2 separate regions of the Homo sapiens genome follow, and region 1 is linked to region 2. Evidence: promoter capture Hi-C in 16 types of primary human blood cells and fetal thymus (Javierre and others, 2016). All regions are on one chromosome and are shown on one strand. Each heading gives the region's core, a stretch centred on a gene start or on the middle of the fragment in contact. The rest is flanking DNA. Distances are from core to core; before and after follow the strand shown. Region 1 holds the start of SPATA4 (spermatogenesis associated 4). Region 2 holds the start of PPID (peptidylprolyl isomerase D).

What was found. The method cuts DNA at HindIII sites, captures the fragments that hold promoters and counts their contacts. A CHiCAGO score of 5 or more calls a contact.
Region 1: a fragment that was not itself captured here is called in contact with the fragment with the promoter of PPID in region 2 in 1 of 17 cell types (non-activated CD4 T cells); the score reaches 7.3 in non-activated CD4 T cells.

The regions. Positions count from the first base shown.
Region 1 is chr4:176,195,514-176,198,213 of GRCh38, reverse strand. SPATA4 (spermatogenesis associated 4) reads left to right here and starts at 2,629. Exons shown (of 6, transcript NM_144644.4): 1 at 2,629-2,700. The coding sequence starts at 2,652. The HindIII fragment of the contact is 973 bases long and covers 964-1,936 here.
Region 2 is chr4:158,721,999-158,724,698 of GRCh38, reverse strand. PPID (peptidylprolyl isomerase D) reads left to right here and starts at 1,303. Exons shown (of 10, transcript NM_005038.3): 1 at 1,303-1,495. The coding sequence starts at 1,411. RefSeq lists enhancers at 725-1,309, 1,197-1,676, 1,310-1,893. The HindIII fragment of the contact is 3,604 bases long and covers 1-2,700 here.

The DNA.
Region 1 (2,700 bases), core at 201-2,700, about 17 Mb before region 2:
CGCCACCGCACTCCAGCCTGCGCAACAGCATGACTCTGTCTCAAAAACAAAAACAAATAAACCCTAACCTATAGATCTAACCTACCTCTCTAGCCATTATCATCTAAACCTTTGGTTGACAATGTCTCTTTGGTTGATAATGCCTAAACACTTTCTCTAACCCTAATGGGTTCTGTTCTTTCCTAAAACTCATTTAAAAAACCCCTCATATTTCTATGCAATTGCTCCCATTAGTCACTCTGTGTGAGATTGCCCCTTCATCATCCAAATAAATTTCCAAGATCACCTTTGAAGCAATCATCTATGCTTACTGAGCACTACGTGCTGCACATTGTTTTAGGCTCTTTATAGATTTCACTTATTTAATCTCTACAGCTCTGTGGTGTATCCTATTTATTTCCATATTTTACAAATACAAATGTTAAATAACTTGCCCAAAGTCATATAGCTAATAAAAGGTAGTGTGAACCCAGAAACTCTGAGACAGGTCTCAGTTAATTTAGAAAGTTTATTTTGCCAAGGTTGAGGATGAGCACCCGTGACACAGCCTTAGGAGGTCCTGACATGTGCCCAAGGTGGTCAGGGCAGTTTGGTTTTATACATTTTAGGGAGACATGAGACTTCAGTCGACATGTGGAAGATGAACATTGATTTGGTCTGGAAAAGGTGGGACAACTAGAAGCAAAGGCAGGACAACTCAAGCAGGGAGGGGGCTTCCAGGTCATAGGTAGATGGGAGACAAATGGTTGCATTCTGTTGAGTTTCTGATGAGCCTTTCCAGAGTAGGCAATCAGGTATGCATTTAGCTCAGTGAGCTAAGCGGTGACTTTGAATAGAATAGGAGGCAGGTTTGCCCTAAGCAGTTCCCACTTTGACTTTTCCCTTTAGCTTAGTGATTTGGGGGAGGTGGGGGGGGTCCCAAGATTTAATTTCCTTTCACAGTAGAAATGGCTATTCAAAGCTTTCATCTTAAAAATCAGCTTAAAATACCACCTTCTAAGATCCAAATTAATGGTCATCTCTTTTGAGAGGACTTCTTACACTCTCCCAGGCCAAAGTATTTGCTTCCTTTCTGGTGCTAACATATTTTTACCATGGCAGAGCTTTTCAGTGTATGTAATCTTTTCACTGATATTTCTATCTCTGAATCTCTTATAAATGATCTGCCGCACAGAGCTGTCCAATCGAAATTCCTGTAGTGATGGAACAGTGCTGTGTCTGTCCTACCCAACATGGCAGCCACTAGCTACATATGGCTATTGAGCAGGTAAAATGTAGCCAGTGGAACTGAGTTTATTTAAATTTAAGTTTAAATAGCCACATGTGGCTAGTGGCTACCATATTGGATGGTAAAGATCTAGCACATACTCCAGGATAGTTCCTCAGAAAAGGTTTACAGAATGAATGAATCATTCATTAAAACTTTTTTAGCCTAACAGAAAACACTTACATAGCTTCAGTTTTGGTTTTCTTTTTTAACCACATACAGAATACACTGGTTTACTTTATTAATAAGCATGTATATGAATAAACATTAAAAATATTACATAGTATCATTATCAAGATCTATCCCATATTTTACCATGTGTATGTATCCACAGGGCCTGTCACCTGGCTCTCTGCAGCCTCAAGTTCCTGAGCTCAAGCAATCCTCCCACCTCAGCATCTGGAGTACTTGAGAGTACAGGTGTGCACCACCACACCCAGCTATTTTGTTTGTTTGTTTGTTTTGTAGCGAAAGTCTCTCCACCTTGTGTTGCCCAGGCTGGTCTTGAACTCCTGAGCTCAAACGATCCTCCCGCCTCCACCACCCAAAGTGCTGGGATTACAGGCATGACCCACTGTGCCCTGCCAAGCAAAAAAAAACAAAAAACAAAAAACAAAAAACAAAAAACTGTGGCTGTAAAAATTTTTAATGGATTTTAATAATTAAGCTTACATATTTATAATTGCCTATGCCAACTTTGCAGTTGTTTTCATTGTGTTCAGATAGATCCCAAGTGACTAGATGAATGCGTGGCACATAATATGGACTCAATACATATTTGTTGAATTAATGAAGGAATTATGCCTACTAGGAGATTTTAATTAAGTGTGAAAATCTAACCTACACATCGTTTTCAAATATTAATGTTTACAAATACTTAATGCAATAATTAAGGAAATAGTTATGTTAAATTTTGTGGACATTCATTTCCATTTCAAAGATTTTTTTCCCCCATCTCTTCCAATTCCCAAACAAAAACTGTCCTTGGCCTCTGGAGTCTTCTCACACCACTCCTCAAACTAGACGACTGAAAATAGGCCTTTGGCTGGGCAGAAACCAACAATATTTAAAATACAAAACTTATGAACGATGACATAAGAAAAAAAAAGCTCTAAATAGGTTAACAGTGAGGCCAACTAAATCTGAGACTGAAAGCGCTCCCCAGACCGCAGCCACACCACTGGGACCCCAGCTTTGCCTCCCTCGATACCCGGCCCCGCGGTCCAAAATCTGAGTAAAGCGGAAGTACGGGCGGCTGCTGCGGCGCTTGCGCAGGCGCTGAGGTCTCGCCCCATAAGACTCCGCCCCGCCCCACGAGACCGCGCCGCCAGCAATAAGGCCCAGCCCCGCCTTCTGCTGTTGCCGCAGCAACCCAGAAAGCGTCATGGCTGCCGCCGGCCAGGAAAAAGGGTATTTGACACAGACTGCGGCAG
Region 2 (2,700 bases), core at 54-2,553:
GCAGGAGCCTTCATCTAGAGGGATGGTGACAGCTCTGATAGGGGAAAATTAGCACTGGTCTTTCCTTCCAAAAAGCCACTCTGGCTGCTGCTGTTGACACAAGGCTCCTGGCTTTTGAGACATTATTTGAGTGCTGGATTCCAATACTTTTTACTTTCTCATAAGAAAAAAAAATGTGAAGCATCTAAGGATATCTCCTGCCTTATTGATAAAGTAAGCCTCAGGCTGAATCCAAATTGCTGAGCTCCAATAGAACTACAGGGCAAAGCATCTACACAGGGAATTGCCACTCTTCTCCAAAATTAGGCTTTATTAAGAGGCAAGGCTATGTTCTCCTCATATATATGTGTGTGTGTGTGTGTGTGTGTGTGTGTGTGTGTGTGTGTAAAAAGTAAATGTTTTACACAGATCCCCATAAGGGAAAAGTGGGCTATAGTAATACAGTATTTTTTTGTTTTTCTTTTTTTTGGGGGGGGGGGGGACAGTTTCGCTCTGTCACCCAGTCTGGAGTACAGTGGCGCGATCTCGGTTCACTGCAACCGCCGCCTCCCGGGTTCAAGCGATTCTCCTGCCTCAGCCTCCCGAGTAGCTGGGACTACAGGCAAGCACCACCACGCCCGGGTGATTTTTTTTTTTTTTATTTTTAGTAGAGACGGGTTTCATCATGTTGGTCAGGCTGGTCTCGAACTCCTGACCTCAAATGATCCGCCCGCCTCGGCCTCCCAATGTGCTGGGACTACAGGCGTGAGCCACCGCGCCCCGCCAAATACAGTTTTATCAGGAATCAAAACTGTGCTCTCTTCTGGACTCTCAGCTTTAGCTGTTTGGAGCGTTTAGTCTAAGCCTTACCACTTACATTGTAATGTGAAGATCAAATTGTAACGACATGGCAATAATAAGGCTCCTATTGGTTGGGTACCACCAGTTTATGCCAGGCATTGTACTGATTCATGTCTTTAATCCTCAAAACGACCTTCCGAGGTCAGCGTTTTTATTCTTTTTCCAGAGGAGCAAACTGAGTTTCTGAGAAGTCACACCCAACTTGGTGGCAGAGCTGACGCTGGCATGGGGTTGACTCCAAAGCTCTCTACGCCACGAGGGTGGGAAAGACAACGAAACACAAGCGAGAAGAATAATGAGAACTGGGATCGCAACTTCATTAAATGAGAAGCCAGGAACAGGTGGCGGAGGGCACGCGGTTCGCTGCACGGAGTCGCTCAGGCTCTTTGAAACACCGCGCGGGGGAGCGGGGCGGTGCCGGAAGTCAGGCCATGGCTTCCGGTTCTTGCGTCGGAAGTGGCCGGTCAGCGTCGCTGCCGGTCTCCGGCGGAGACGGACTCTGGAGTTTGGGCGGCCCGGGCGGCCACTAGGTACTCTGATATTCCGTACTAAACACGTCTGCAAGTCAAGATGTCGCACCCGTCCCCCCAAGCCAAGCCCTCCAACCCCAGTAACCCTCGAGTCTTCTTTGACGTGGACATCGGAGGGGAGCGAGGTGAGCGGAGTCTGACGCTCGCGGAAAAGCCCCGAGGAGGCGGGGGTTCCCGGGATTTGGGGGATTCCAAGGGCGGAATGCGGCTCCGGCCGGTGACTGCTCAGTTTCGCGGAGGGGATGGCTGCCTAGGCTGGTCCGCCGGAGCAGGCCCGGAGATCTAGGGCTAGATCGATCCAGCGCCCTTGTATCAATGCCATCGGTGGTGCGGAAGTTTCTGGAAATTTCTAGTTCGGGAATTGTGGCGTCCTTTAGGTTTGCCTCCTGATTTGGTGGCACTTCCACGCCACCTTTGCACTACCAAGTTAGCATGAAATATTTTATGTTTGCAATGGGACAGTTCGGAAAGCATATCCTGGGATATGCGTCTGCTGGGCCCCAGGAAACTATATTTGCCACATGAGATAATATATCAGCACGTGCTGTGTTATTTATACGTTAAAGGGACTTGTTTGCTCATTGCTTTTGCCTTATTACTGATTCTTAATTTAGAGGTCCGTTCAGATGAGCAAACATTTTCTCTTAATTTGCCATTGGGAAAATGCGCTCAACGTAGTGATGGTGTTGCCTAGGTTACATAGCCGCTCAGAAGTTCCTAAGGCCTGGTGAATTAGGGAGCGTGTTGCTTTGTAACTGGATTGGCCTTGTTCTGGAACACGTTGGAATTGCTGGCCAGGCAATGTGTTTGAATGCATGTACAGGACACACACACGTTTACACGTACATTCAGTTTGTTGCAACTAGCTAGGGCTAGGTTTAATCTCACCTGTCTTAGCTGCTATCTAGAGGAGGAATTTTTACAGCTTTTGCTTCAGAGGTTGCATGAGGCAGTTTGCTCAGAGCACAAAGGCTGCAGGTATACGTAACACGTGGCAAGTCCGCCCACCCAAAGACTGTTTAATTTTCTCCCGTTGGTTGCTTGGTGATTGGAAATTCTCAGTACCTCTTGAAGAAATTACTCAGGATTTAAAACTATTTGTATTTAATGATATCTCTTACATGGTGCTAATCTTTTGGCTACTATAATTGGTTATGATCCTTAGTGTAATGTTTCAAATCTGTTTATATACATACATGACAGTAGGTAGACTAAATTTGAATATTAGAATAAAATAAGATTCACTAATTCTAGTGAGTATATTCAAAGGAAATGAAGTTTGTATGTCAAAGAGGTATCTGCACTCCCATGTTCATTGCAGCATTATTCA